3 separate regions of the Homo sapiens genome follow, and regions 2 and 3 are each linked to region 1. The links are contacts of gene promoters, found by promoter capture Hi-C in blood cells and fetal thymus (Javierre and others, 2016). All regions are on one chromosome and are shown on one strand. Each heading gives the region's core, a stretch centred on a gene start or on the middle of the fragment in contact. The rest is flanking DNA. Distances are from core to core; before and after follow the strand shown.

Region 1 (4,521 bases), core at 620-3,119:
CTCACGCCTGTAATCCCAGCACTTTGGGAGGCCGAGGCGGGTGGATTACCTGAGGTCAGGAGTTGGAGACCAGCCTGGCCAACATGGTGAAACCCCATCTCTACTAAAAAAATAGAAAAATTAGCCAGGCGTGGTGGCAAGTGCCTGTAATCCCAGCTACTCGGGAGGCTGAGGCAGGAGAATCGCTTGAACCCCGAAGGCAGAGGTTCAGTGAGCCAAGATCACGCCATTGCACTCCAGTCTGGGAGTGCAAGAAATATTAATGTGGGCACACAAGCTATTTCTCATTTTTTTTTATTGAAACAACATTGCTTAGTTTCATTTACCTTTCTGTGAAATGTCTTTCTGTGAAAGTCTATCACAGCCTGATGTAATTTTTATAAACAATGAATACATGCTGTTACTATTTTTGAAAGGAAATTTAATCGCTTGGAAAAATTCAGACTAAAGCCCCGAGAGGAAAATTATCATCCAGTGCATGCTCAGAGATTTCTTCTTACTCTACTTTTGTTTTTCCTTTTTGAAAGCATTTGTGATTGAGAGATGTCTGAGGGAAGGGACAAATTGCATTCTGGGAGTTTTAAAGAGTTATGTCAGGCAACTAAAATACGTGGCCTCTGTATTTAAAGAGATTTCACACCAGTATACTATTTGCTTTATAATTTTTGTGTTTCTTATTGTTTAAAAATGCCTTTAACATTTAGTGCTGTGTTAAAGGATAGCATGCCAGATTCCAGATTAATGTAAAGACTCCACTATTTAACTTTTCCCTAGTAACTTTAAAACAGAGTTTGGGTTCCAAGTTCAGCATGGAAAGATAGCATAAACATTTAAACTAAGTAAAGTGCGAAATACACATTTTTGAAGTTGGTAAGTGCTGTTTAATCATTTTCCCCTTCTCTCCCAAGTCTTTTGAAACTTCAAAAGGCTTGTTTAAGCAGTGTGTTTAAAAAAAAAAAAATCCATACCCAATTGGGCTCCTCTCTATTAAGGAATGTGGAAAATTCATGATTTATGAAACGATGACACCAGTCTTACATTTCACAGGCTCCCAAGCTCTGAAACACGGGTACATAGGAAAATACACAGAAAATTCCTGTTCTTTGCAACGTGCGAAACGTTTCAAAATGCAACTTTGCTCATCTCCCTCCCCCGTACAAACTAATAAAATCAGTTTGGCTCTGACTGCTTATTTTTAAAAAGTAGACGGCCTGGTAGGTGCTCTAGGGATAACCCTTCTCCCCCCACTCCACCCCCCTTCCCGCACACCCATTTAGACTGGCAAGCCCGTTTTCATTTTATTTCAAAGATTTTTTTTTTTTAAGCGAAGGCAGGGGACGGCGGGGGTTGCTAAATTTATCTTCCTCCCCAGCCACGGGGATGAAGAAAACACATTTACTGCGGGCGGGGGTCTGAGGGCCTGCAAACAACTCGAGCTGGAGCCTCGGCCAGGACCGGCGCGAGAGGCGGTAGGTCTCCAGGGAGGCCCCCGGGGGGCGGCCGCGGCCCACGGGACATGGTGGGGGGCGGCCGGGCCGCCTGCCTCTCCGCGGGGTCGGCCGACCGCGGCCCCGCGCGGGCTTTACGGCCGAGGCGGCGGCGGCAGCGGCGCGTGTGTGGCGGCGGCGGGCGGGAGCGCGGAGGAGGTGGAAAGAAGGGGGGCGCTGTCACGGAGACTCCGGCCGCCGGAGACCCCGCCGCAGCGAGGCCACTGGGCTCCCCGGTCGCGGGGCGGGAGCGGCGCCGACACGGGGTGCCAGGAGGACCCACCGGGCGGAGGAGGGGGCCTGTCTACCCTTCCGCATTTTCCTGGGTCTCTCTCCCGGGCGGTGACGTGACGTGCTGACGGCGGGCCCGTGCCGGGGAGCTGGGCCGCTTTTTGTCAGCTCCGAGCTCGGCCCCTCCTCCCTCCCTCCGCCCGCCCCACCAGCCGGAGCCCGGCCCAGTGCTCCAGAGAAAGGCCGGCCTGCAGCACCCGCCACCGTCGCCGGCCGCCCGCACGTCCGTCCGGTGAGTCCCGGGTGCCGCCGCGGCCGCGGGGCCTAGTGCGCGCACAGCGGCCTGGTCTCGGCCTGGTCGGCGGCCCGCAAGGCGCCCTCCCGCGCTAGGCCGGGCGGCGTGGCGCGCGGCGCCGAGCAGGCCCCGAGGAGGCCGCAGTTAGGCCCGGGGAGGAGCCCGGCTGCCCCGAGCGGCGGCGGAGGCGCGCTCCGTAAGCGGGCGGGGGTTGGGGGAGGGTCGCCCGGTTGTGCCGGAGGCGGTCGAGGGGCCCCGGGTCGGCTCCGCGGCCGACCTGGGGCACCGCGCCGGGGTGAGGCCTGGCGAGGAGGCGAAGGCTGCAGGCGTGAGGTGAAGGCCGCAGGCCGGCCGGGCCGATTTTCGCTATGTAAATATCGGTGAGGGGGGGGGAGGGACGGGGGACAAGATGGCGGCGGCTCGGCGCCTGCTGCAGGGGACGATAGAGGGGGTTGCCGGGAGGGGGAGCCGCCATCTTGGAGGCGGTGTCTGGAGAGAAAATTCCGCTACAGCCCGTGAGGGGGGGTGGGAGAGCGGGCGGCGGCGGCAGCGGCGCCGGTGACGGGCCCCGGAGGCCCGGCGCGGCGGCGTGTGCGCGCGGAGGGGCGTGCTCGCTCCCCGTGGCGGCCATTGCCCTTGCCGCCATGATGAGCGCTCGGGCTCCAGGCGCTCGGCGGCAGCGCCACCTTCCTGCCTTGCCTCCCGCAGCCCCGTGACTGGCTGCAGTTTCCGCTGCGTTTCAGCTGAGCTGCCGCAGGCGGCCACCGCCGCCGCCCGGACGCCGGGACCGTTTCACCCTCAGCGCCCCTGGCCCTGCGCCTTCCCCCGCGCCTGTAGCCACCCGAGGGCAGTCGGGGCAGGTGGCATTCCGGACACCTGGGCTTACCAGGGCATACGGGACCCCAGGAAATGTTATTTTTGCTTAAGTCAAATCATATGTGGCTGCTAAGGTGCTTTCGATGCAGTTGTTTTTCCAACAATCTTTGCCGCCCCGAGTATCTGAATAAAGGAAGAAAAATAAAGATTGATGGGAAAGTTTTTGCCATTCTTTTGTCCTATAGGGAAAAAAATTGCACAACACGAGAGCGGAGGAATAAAATTTTGAATCATTCGTACTCATTTATGTGGAAACAACTTTCTTGAAAAACGATTTAAGTAGTGATCTGTTGGTGGTATTTTTTTAAATCGAGGAATAAGGGCAGACTTTTTTATTTTCTTATTGGAGGACAACTTAGTGTGGTGCATATTTATTGTGCATTTGCCTGTCATGGTATTTCGATTTTTCATTTGTGAAGTTTTAAGGCGGAGTTTCATCCCCTAACGTACTTTTTTGATTGCACACTGTGCAACTTTCTTGATAAACTCGGAGCCTACTGTTAGCGATGCACCGTGCTAGATGCTAAGAAACATTAAAAAGGTTCTTGTAATGCAGACGGTGGCTGCAAGAAGTCTCATGTTTAGAGGTAGGTGGGGCAAGGTGAAATGCAGTAAAGTGAGAGGTACAACTAATTACTGGGATTTCCGAGGGAAGCAAGGTTGCCATTGGAGGATCAGGGAGGGACGGGTTCCTGAAGTATTAATAGGTGGCATTTTGAGAAGGTTACCGAGGGATGGGTAGGACTTTGTTAGGTAGAGGTGGAGGTGGAGAAAGGACGTTTCAAGGGTGAAGCTTCTTCAGTAAACAGTAAGTATTTACAGTTTGGCAAAAGTGGATGGTATAGGTAGGGGAGTGGTGGGAATTCAGGCTAGAAAAGTTAGATTGCAGAAGGGCTTGCTTGCCAGGTGGAGGGGCTTATACTCAATGGGGTAGGCAGCGGGGGTGCCCTCAACTAGAAGAGTGATGGCACACCTGAGCTGCACCTTGTTATTTACTTATTTTTTATTTTGAGACAGGTTCTTGCTATATTGCCCCAGGCTGGTCTCGAACTCCTGGGCTCAAGCCGTTCTCCCGCCTCCCACTGCCCGCCTGTCACTGCCGTCTGTTCCCTGAGCTGTGCTTTACGGTACTTAGTAGTTCCATTGGACTAGGAAAAGTTTCAAAGTTGAAAAATAATGAGAGTAGTAAGTTGATCAGTGTTTTCATTATCAGAACGATTACAAGAATGTTCAGAAGTTAAGCAAATTTTGCTACTTTTGGAACGATGCGTCTCTATTAAGACAGCTGCTCCTTTTTTCTATCCTGATTTCTCATCCGAAATAATCTTTTGCTCAGAGTTGTCAGAATTTCTATGGTACACAAATAGGGAGGGGTTTCTAACATTTCATTTACCATGGTTGAAAAGTACAGGACTAGTGCTGTGGGTTATTTGACGAAAATGAGAAATGAGTATTCCCGTGGTAATTTTTTTTTTTTTTTGAGACTGAATCTCACTCTGTCGCCCAGGCTGGAGTGCAGTGGTGTGATCTTGGCTCATTGCAACCTCTGCCTCCCGGGTTCAAGTAATTCTCCTGCCTCAGCCTCCCGAGTAGCTGGGACTACAGGACCCTGCCACCATGCCTGGTTAATTT
Region 2 (4,521 bases), core at 921-3,420, 320 kb after region 1:
AACTTCTAGGACTTTGTCACCTTTTGGAAAAGCAGAAATAAAATTAGGCACATGAAAGTTTAAATAATCAAATCAACAGAATGGATTTTAAGTAGCATTTTGTGCAGTGGAAAAGGAAGAAGTGAAACAAGCGATTTGCAAGCTCAGAAAGATCAGCGCTTTGTTGCTTAGGCTGAGAAAATCTCCCTCTCCACAAACATCCAGCTTCTTCCTGCTCACTGACAACTGCCACCAATTATCGCTCCACTTCCAGGTAGCACCTGAAAGTCACTTTAGGAACCACAGGCCACTGGTCTTCTCTTTGTCTGCCCATGCACACCAACTGGATTACTTAGCTCTTCTGGTAAAGCTCCTGGTTAAATAAGTTGTTAGTATGTCTTTTTTAATGCTTTGATTTAATTTGAATGGAAAAGACATGGTAGTCTACATACTTCTACCAAGATGAAGATGACCAAGATGTTCTTGAAAATCCAAAAGTCTAGAAGACCACTGGATGTCTTTTTTTTTGAGATGGAGTCTTGCTCTGTCGCCCAGGCTGGAGTGCAGTGGCACGATCTCGGCTCACTGCAAGCTCCGCCTCCCAGGTTCATGCCATTCTCCTGCCCCAGCCTCCTGAGTAGCTGGGGCTACAGGGGCCCGCCACCACGCCCGGCTAATTTTTCGTACTTTTAGTAGAGCTGGGGTTTCACCACGTTAGCCAGGATGGTCTCGGTTTCCTGACCTCGTGATCCGCCCGCCTCGGCCTCCCAAAGTGCTGGGATTACAGGCGTGAGCCACCGCACCTGGCCGAGGTCTTTTACTGTGTATGTTACTTTTCTTTACATTCAGAGTAGAGATGCAACTATTTTATTAAGCAAAGAATTGGCTGCATAAACGTCCACTGAAGGCACAAAAGCTAAATAGCTACCCACCAATAATCTCATTCAGTGAGAAAACTAGTCCAATCAGAGACCCAAGGAGTGGCTTCCAGTCACATTTGTACCTTTCCTTAAAGAACATTCTTCCTGTCCTTTTAGTTACATATGTTTATGTTTACATATTGCCAAAAAAAAAAAAAAAGCCAAGGTTTGGTGGAAATGGCTAAAGTAAGCTGTACTTTATTCACTCATAATAGGAAATAACAATTTCATATACTGAGCCCTGAGTTCAAGTTCACTTTTTTTTTTTTTTGAGAGGGGGGTCTGGGTATGTTGCCTAGGCAGATCTTGAACTTTTGGGCTCACGTGATCCTCCCACCTCCGCCTGCAGGGTCGTTGGGACTATAGGTGCATGTCACCATGCCAGGCTCTCAAGTTCACTTGAGATAAAGAATACCCAACACTGTGTAAGCATAGACTCCTGTCCAAAAGTGGTGGTGAAGCGTGAAGGGGGCTGTCCTATGGTGGTGGTGTAGAGAAGGGGTATGAAAGAAAGTGCCAGTGACCTTACATTTGATCCTTTCCAATGGTAGTAGTGGGGTGGGGGGGTATGAAACAGAGTCAGTGACCTTGCAATTATCCTGTCCACTGGCATTGGGGAGGTAGGGGGTGTTATTGACCCTTGACCTCACAATGGATCCCGTCCAACGGTGGTGGTGGGGGGACATGAAATGCAATCAGTCACTTAATCTTGTGCGGGAAGGAGGGGAAAGGAACCACGAAAAAGAGAATCAGCGAACTAACAATCCAGTCCAAAGGTGTTCCAAAGGTGTTCTCTTGGGAGTCAGGCAGGGAGGTGGGGGTGGGGCTGGGCCACGAAACAGAGTCAGTCTAGTTAGGCTGTAAAATCTAAGTGTCAGGATGCAGCGAACGGCAAGTCCTCCTCCCGGAAAAGGCGCCTGCGGTTGAGAAGGGTCTTGAGCAGCGCGGAGGATCGGATTCCGGGCTCCTGGCCTCTTCCCGGTCCGCGGGCACCTCGGCTACCTTTCGGCAGCGGAGAACCCAGCCAGAGGCGGAGCTGAAAGCGGCTGCACTTGCTGGGCTGGGCTGAGTCCCATGAGCCAGGGAGGGGGGTCTCTGGCGCCGCGCCCGGACAAAACACAAACGTCACAGAGGCAGCGGCGGCCAATCAGTGGAGGGCGCGCGCGGCCGCGTGCCCCTCGCGCTCCTCGCCTCCCCTCGCGCGCCGCGTACGTGCAGCAACCGACTCCGCCCAGCGAGGCGGAGCCTAGGGAAGCCGCGGGCGGCCCGCCGCTGTCCTGGAGCTGCTGCTGCTGCTGCGGCGGCTGCACCGGCGGCGCCGAGGCCGAGATCGAGGCCGGGGTGCGCGCTTCGCAAACGTGCCCTATCCGTGCGGCTTGGCTGCGCCAGCCCTTGCGGCCACCCGGGCGTCTAGGCGGGTCTGTGCGCCGCCCGGGCGAGGATGCGGCTGTTCCGGTGGCTGCTGAAGCAGCCGGTGCCCAAGCAGATCGAGCGCTACTCGCGCTTTTCGCCGTCGCCGCTCTCCATCAAACAATTCCTGGACTTCGGTGAGTACGGGGCCAAGGGTCCCCATGGGCCCGGGGCCGCCGCCATTCGGGCTGCCACCCCGGATCTCCGCAGCTTCGGGGTAAAGTCTGTGGGAACCGCAGGCGGGGCTAGGGAATATCCGGGGGGCTCTCCTGGGGCTCGGATTTCGGGGCGCGGAGGGGCAGGGCCTGGCCCCCTCGCACCCAGCCTGGGACTTACCCGGAGACACAGAAACGGCGTCTCATTGCAGGACCCTCATCGCAGGCGAGACTCCCCAAACCTGCGGTCGTTAGCTTCAAATCTGCTTGACACAAACCTCACAGCCCTTAAAACTTCAGAACGAGATGTGGGTGGCTTTTTAATGTTTTTATTTTTAGAATTTTTTTTTTTTGGTTGGGTAAGAACTGTTTAGAAATACCTTGAGGTTGAATAAATTATGCAATGGCATTTTGTTCCTTTTCTGCTCTAAGGTGTTGCTGTGTGGCTGGAGTGGCAGGACTCGAACTGTTGTCTTCATCAGGTTATGTTAAATCAGTTAGAGGCCTGGCCTGCAGACGCCTTAGATGCTTGGGAAGAGCGGACGTCTGGGATCCTAGCATCAGAGCAGGGTCTAATACAACTCTGGCTTTAGTGCCAGCACCTTTCGTTTCTCTTCTCCATTGGTGTCCCACCCACATTCTCCCTGTCCGGTGGGCTGGTGGGCGGCTTTCACGGATTGAGGTGGGACCAAAGAAGATTCGGGTTCCCAGCCTGCCTCAGGCCTAGCTGAGATGGGAATAGATTCCACCACCTTCTGTTAACTGAATCATGTTTCCCCAGAAAACGAAGGAGCTGGTTGTGAAACACCTAAAAGTAAAACGCATGCATTGAGGTATCAGAATGGAACTCAGCATCCCTGGAGGAAAATCAAATCCAGCAGCAAAGATGTTCTAAGCTCTCCAGGGGAAATCGTAGGGTGTCTGTTCATTTAATGAATTTTATGTAAATGTCAAGGGTGTCAGTGATAGTGTCAGTTGGGCATAAAAACTAAAGTGCAGAGTAGGTAGAACATTTGAGGAAGACCTGATATGCAAAAAGTGATGTCCATACTTTTTTTTTTTTAAAAGCTAGGATAGGAAGAGAGGAATAGGTTAAAGTTGAGACCAAATTAAAATTTTAGAAGCCAATTTGCCAGAGAATGATGATGAAAGTCAAAGTTCAATGACACGTTGATTTCTGCATCTTCAAACTTCACTCCCAAAAGCTATTGGTAGTTTTACTTACTATCTCGAGAATTGTAGAGGTTTGAGGCAGTTTCTGACTTTAGAGTTTAGAAAATGTTGCTATTGCTATAAATATAGGCAAGTTTTCCATCTTTATGGTTTAGGGAAGATTCTGAAGGTATCAGCCTTTCATTAGTGTAAACTGAAACAGGATAATTCACAATAAAAGGAACAAAAGGAATCCAGAAACTCCCAGTTCTTTCCACCCTCAAAGTTTAAGTGATAGCTCCAATAGCCAGCCAAAATTTTGGTTAGTTGATTTCCATAGCAGCTAGTGTCTACCCGTGTTAATAGGTATTTTGGTAAGGATGTTATGTGAGTAGGAAAACCACAGTGGAGGATAGTGTTATCATGGAAAACCTGTGAGGCCAGTATCTGGAAACAAATGTTCTAATTCTGGCTCTGCCACTAGCTCAGAATGTGGCCTTGACTAAGTGACCAAACCTCACTTGGGGTTCATTTTCCTCATTAATAAAATGAGTAGATTGTATCAGGCGATCTTTAAAAGCACAGCTCACCACTATACGATTGTGATTTCAAAGGAAGAGGCATGAACTTTCTAAAAGAAAACTACCAAATCTTTTGATAGATATTTCCTATAAAAGTCTTCTGACCTATTTTGGGAGGGGTGGAGGGATTCACTAAGGTCATGAGAGAAGCATAATAATTTAAGGTTTTCCTTATAAGGAAGCGCACAGAAGTGCTAGATATAGTTGTAGTGGAATTTGCTAGAAGTGACAAGGCTAGTTTGTAACACCCAGAGATGAATCAGGTGCTAATCAGCCTATCTTTAATGACAGGACAACTAAAAGACGGGAGTTGTTGCAAAAAGG
Region 3 (4,521 bases), core at 1,425-3,924, 260 kb before region 1:
CTTTTTCAACTTTATAGAGAATCTAGTGAATACTCTCTCCCATTTAAAAAAAGGGTGACTCTTTTCTCCCACAATTACAGAACTATTATCTTATTAGACTTCCATTTATAATATATGCCAGCTTCATGATAGAAGGCTTTTGCAGGCCTGTGTACACAAGAGGTTTCAGAATCACCTGGGGAGTTGTTTTTTTTTTTTTTTTTTTTTTTTAAGACAGAGCCTCGCTCTGTCGCCCAGGCTGGAGTGCAGTGGTGCGATCTTGGCTCACTGCAAGCTCCGCCTCCTGGGTTCATGCCATTCTCCTGCCTCAGCCTCCTGGTAGCTGGGACTACAGGCACCAGCCACCACGCCTGGCTAATTTTTTGTATTTTTAGTAGAGACGGGGTTTCACTGTGTTAGCCAGGATGGTCTCAATCTTCTGACCTCGTGATCCGCCCACCTCGGCCTCCCAAAGTGCTGGGATTACAGGCGTCAGCCACCGCGCCTGGCCCACCTGGGGAATTTTTTAAAAGCATAGATTCTAACAGCTTCCCCCAGAGTGTCTGACTCTGAATCTAAGAGGGGCCCAAGAATCTATTCCCAAGATAAGCAAAGTTTTGAAAACCACCATTCCACAAACATATGCTTAGAGAACAGTTATTCAACTTAAGTTTGTATAAGCACTCAAACATACTTTTAAAAACATTTGAAAGTATAAAATGAAAACTGTCCTAAATATAAAAAGAAACAGAGTGACTGGCCACCCACTAGAGAAATTATGACATTTATTTACATTCAAGAAAATCTCTCCCGTCTTAAACAAAACACAACAAATACCCTCCACCCCTAATTCCCTCTCTAACAACTACCTTACCCTTCTACCAACTTCCATTGACAAATTTATTTTAAAAGTAGACTATGGTTAGAAGGCAGAATAGTGGATACCCTTAGCAAGCTGGGTAGTGACTAGAAGGGCCACGAGAAGAGCTTCTAGAGTGCTAGTATGTTTAGTTTGTAAAAATTCACTTATGCCCCGTTTACTTTCCTATATGTATGTTATACAAATGGTCTCAGACTTACAAATGGTTCAACCTTACATGGTGCAGAAGCGATACGCATTCTGTAGAAACCGCACTTTGAGTACCCATATAACCATTCTGCTTTTCACTTTCAGTGCAGTATTCAATAATGTACATGAAACATTCAATAGTTTATTATAAAATAGGCTTTGTGTTAGATGATTCTGCCCAACTGTGGGCTACTGGAAGTGTTCTGAGTACATTTAAGGGAGGGTAGGCTAAATTATGATGTTTGGTAGGTTAGGTGTGTTAATTTTTGACTTAATGATATTTTCAACTTATGATAGGTTTATCAGAATGCAACCCCACCACAAGCTGAGGAGCATCCGCATTTAAGCACAAAGTCAAAAAGGCAGATTCTGTTTGCTTTCTCAATTTTATCTCCTCCTCCCTTTACTACTAAATGCACCTAAAACCTTTCTTCCCAAGACCACCAATAGCCTCCCAGTTGCTAAACCCCACTGGACATCTGGCATCTTGGTTGCACCCTGAAACTGGTGACTACTCTACATCTTCAACCCCTTTCTTTGGCTTACAGGATTCTACCCTATCCCCATTCTAGAGGCTTTCTAGGTACTCTCTCCTCCCCTTTTGGGCCTTCTCTTCCTCTGCATAGCTCTTCAAGGTTGATGAGTCATGGAGTAGTCTTTAACTCTCTCCTCTTCTCACTCCAGGGCAATTTCATTAAAATCTAATTCTTTCTTTTTTTTTTCTTTCAGACAGAGTCTCGCTCTGTCACCCAGACTGGAGTCCAGTGGCCTGATCTCGGCTCACTACAATCTCCGCCTCCCGGGTTCAAGGGATTCTCATGCTTTAGCCTCCCAAGTAGCTGGGATTACAGGCGCCCGCCACCACGCTCAGCTAATTTTTGTGTTTTTAGTAGAGACAGGGTTTCGCCATGTTGGCCAGGCTGGTCTCAAACTCCTGGGCTCAAGGGATCCACCTGCCTCAGCCTCCCAAAGTGCTGGGATTATAGGCGTGAGCCACCACACCTGGCCAAAATCTAAGTCTTTAACTCCCACTCATATGCTACTGATGCTCAAATCAGTATCCCTAGCCTGGGCCTCTCCCTAAGCCTCAGGCTTGTGTGTTTCCTGTGTTTCTAACTCCCTGAGGGACATGTTACCAGGCTTTTCAACTGCTACTTCAAACAGGCTATATCCAAAGGTGACCTTTTTTTTGGAGTGATGGAATATATTATTTCTATTTTCCATGTAAATAATTTAAACTCTCTCTATGTAAGTATATATACACTTACAGTATCTTACCCTTCTACCAAGTTTATATATATGTATATAAACTATATGTATATATATACTTATAGACTTATACATACTATATATACTTAAAAATATAGTTTATATAGTTTAAGTATATATAATACTTTATGTATTTCTATATATAGTTTACATTTATATATTTAAAATGTATGACATTATGCTTTCAACTATCTTTCTCCAAAACTGTTTTTATGAGATTCTCTACCTTATTTAATGATCCTACAAGCCACACAAAGGACAACATAAAAGCAACTCTTTAATGATAAAGAATGAAAATAAATTTTTTTTTTTTTGAGACAGAGTTTTGCTCTTTCACCCAGGCTGGAGTGAAGTGGCGCAATCTCGGCTCAAGACAACCTCCGTGCCCCTGGGGTTCAAACGATTCTCCTGCCTCAGCCTCTCAAGTAGCTGGGATTACAGGCAGCCACCACCACACCCAGCTAATTATTTTTTTTTTTTTTGAGACGGAGTCTCGCACTGTCGCCCAGCCTGGAGTGCAGTGGCGCGATCTCCACTCACTGCAACCTCCGCCGTCTCTCGGATTCAAGCGATTCTCCTGCCTCAGCCTCCCAAGTAGCTGGCATTACAGGCGCCCGCTACCATGCCCAGCTACTTTTTGGAATTTTAGTAGAGACAGGGTTTCACCATGTTGGCTAGGCTGGTGGTCTCAAACTCCTTACCTCAGGTGATCCACCTGCCTTGGCCTCTCATACTGCTGGAATTGGCCAAGGTGGGCAGTTCACGAGGTCAGGAAATCGAGACCATCCTAGAAACACAGTGAAACCCCATCTCTACTAAAAATACAAAAAATTAGCAGGGCATGGTGGCGGGCGCCTGTAGTCCCAGCTACTCAGGAGGCAGAGGCAGGAGAATGGCGTGAACCTGGGAGGTGGAGCTTGCAGTGAGCCAAGATCGCGCCACTGCACTCCAACCTGGGCGACAGAGCGGGACTCCGTCACAAAAAAAAAAAAAAAGTGCTGGGATTACAAGCGTGAGCCACCGCGCCTGGCCTCAGTCAACCTTTTCTGCAATAATTTCCATTCTGACAGCATTTTTCACTCGAAACAAAACTATTTTAATCTGATTCTAATTATTTAGGAGGTAAAAATCTGAAATGGGTTTTTTACAAAAAAAAAAAACAAACTATGAACACTGACAATACTTTTGAGATTATTCTTATTCTAAGTAACCAACACAAAAAAAAGAACTATGTGAAAGAACTCAGAATACAACAAAATGATGAAGACAATAAAAAAATTTTGTCAAAATCAGGCTACACTGTTGTCCTCAGTAACGTGTTGTAAATTGAATGAAAAATCAAGAGAAAGGCCGGGCGCGGTGGCTCACGCCTGTAATCCCAGCACTTTGGGAGGCCGAAGCGGGCAGATCACGAGGTCAGGAGATCGAGACCATCTTGGCTAACATGGTGAAACCCCATCTCTACTAAAAATACAAAAAAAAAAAAAACAAAACATTAGCCAGGCGTGGTGGTGGGAACCTGTAGTCCCAGATACTCAGGAGGCTGAGGCAGGAGAAAACCTGGGAGGCGGAGCTTGCAGTGAGCCGACATCACGCCACTGCACTCCAGTCTGGGCGACAGGGCAAGGCTCCGTCTGAAAAATAAATAAATAAATAAATAAAAATAAAAATCAAGAGAAATGAGTCCACAATTCTTGAAACGTCAAAAGAATACAGAATACTCTCCTCCATAAGGAGCATTCAGGACAGTATCTACATTTTATACAGCAATCTTTTATTTTTATATTTTTTATTTTTTGAGACAGAGTTTCACTCTTGCCACCCAGGCTGGAGTGCAGTGCCACAATCTCGGCTCACTGCAATCTCCGTCTCCTGGGTTCAAGTGATTCTCCAGCCTCAGCCTCCTGAGTAGCTGGAATAATAGGTGCCTGCCACCACGCCCAGCTAATTTTTTTTGTATTTTCAGTAGAGATGGGGTTTCTCCATGTTGGCCAGGCTGGTCTCGAACTCCTGATCTCAGGTGATCTGCCTGCCTCGGCCTTCCAAAGTGCTGGGATTATAGGCATGAGCCACCATGCCCGGCCAGCAATCCTTTCTAACATGTAGGGCCACACACCAAACAGAACAGAGGCTTTCTCTGGAAAGGGGGCTGGGGGGAGGTGGACAATAGCAACCTGACCAACTGTACTATTTTGACTTTTTAC

Evidence for each region. The method cuts DNA at HindIII sites, captures the fragments that hold promoters and counts their contacts. A CHiCAGO score of 5 or more calls a contact.
Region 2: a contact is called between the fragment with the promoter of PDK3 here and the fragment with the promoter of ZFX-AS1 in region 1, in 4 of 17 cell types (naive CD4 T cells, naive CD8 T cells, non-activated CD4 T cells and 1 more). The highest score is 6.9, in naive CD4 T cells.
Region 3: a contact is called between a fragment that was not itself captured here and the fragment with the promoter of ZFX-AS1 in region 1, in 2 of 17 cell types (total CD4 T cells and naive CD8 T cells). The highest score is 6.3, in total CD4 T cells.

What each region holds. Positions count from the first base shown.
Region 1 is chrX:24,147,785-24,152,305 of GRCh38, forward strand. ZFX-AS1 (ZFX antisense RNA 1) reads right to left here and starts at 1,870. Exons shown (of 3, transcript NR_046657.1): 1 at 1,771-1,870; 2 at 969-1,058. ZFX (zinc finger protein X-linked) reads left to right here and starts at 1,945. Exons shown (of 10, transcript NM_003410.4): 1 at 1,945-2,010; 2 at 3,907-4,016. RefSeq lists enhancers at 1,282-1,381, 1,588-2,401 and silencers at 1,492-1,851, 1,912-2,321, 2,342-2,391, 2,442-2,951. The HindIII fragment of the contact is 5,789 bases long and covers 1-3,680 here.
Region 2 is chrX:24,463,116-24,467,636 of GRCh38, forward strand. PDK3 (pyruvate dehydrogenase kinase 3) reads left to right here and starts at 2,171. Exons shown (of 11, transcript NM_005391.5): 1 at 2,171-2,446. The coding sequence starts at 2,341. RefSeq lists a silencer at 1,912-2,231. The HindIII fragment of the contact is 17,643 bases long and covers 1-4,521 here.
Region 3 is chrX:23,889,471-23,893,991 of GRCh38, forward strand. The region is part of intron 1 of APOO (apolipoprotein O); the gene reads right to left. Among named protein-coding and RNA genes, the nearest start is that of APOO, 16 kb to the right of the region's middle. The HindIII fragment of the contact is 7,288 bases long and covers 1-4,521 here.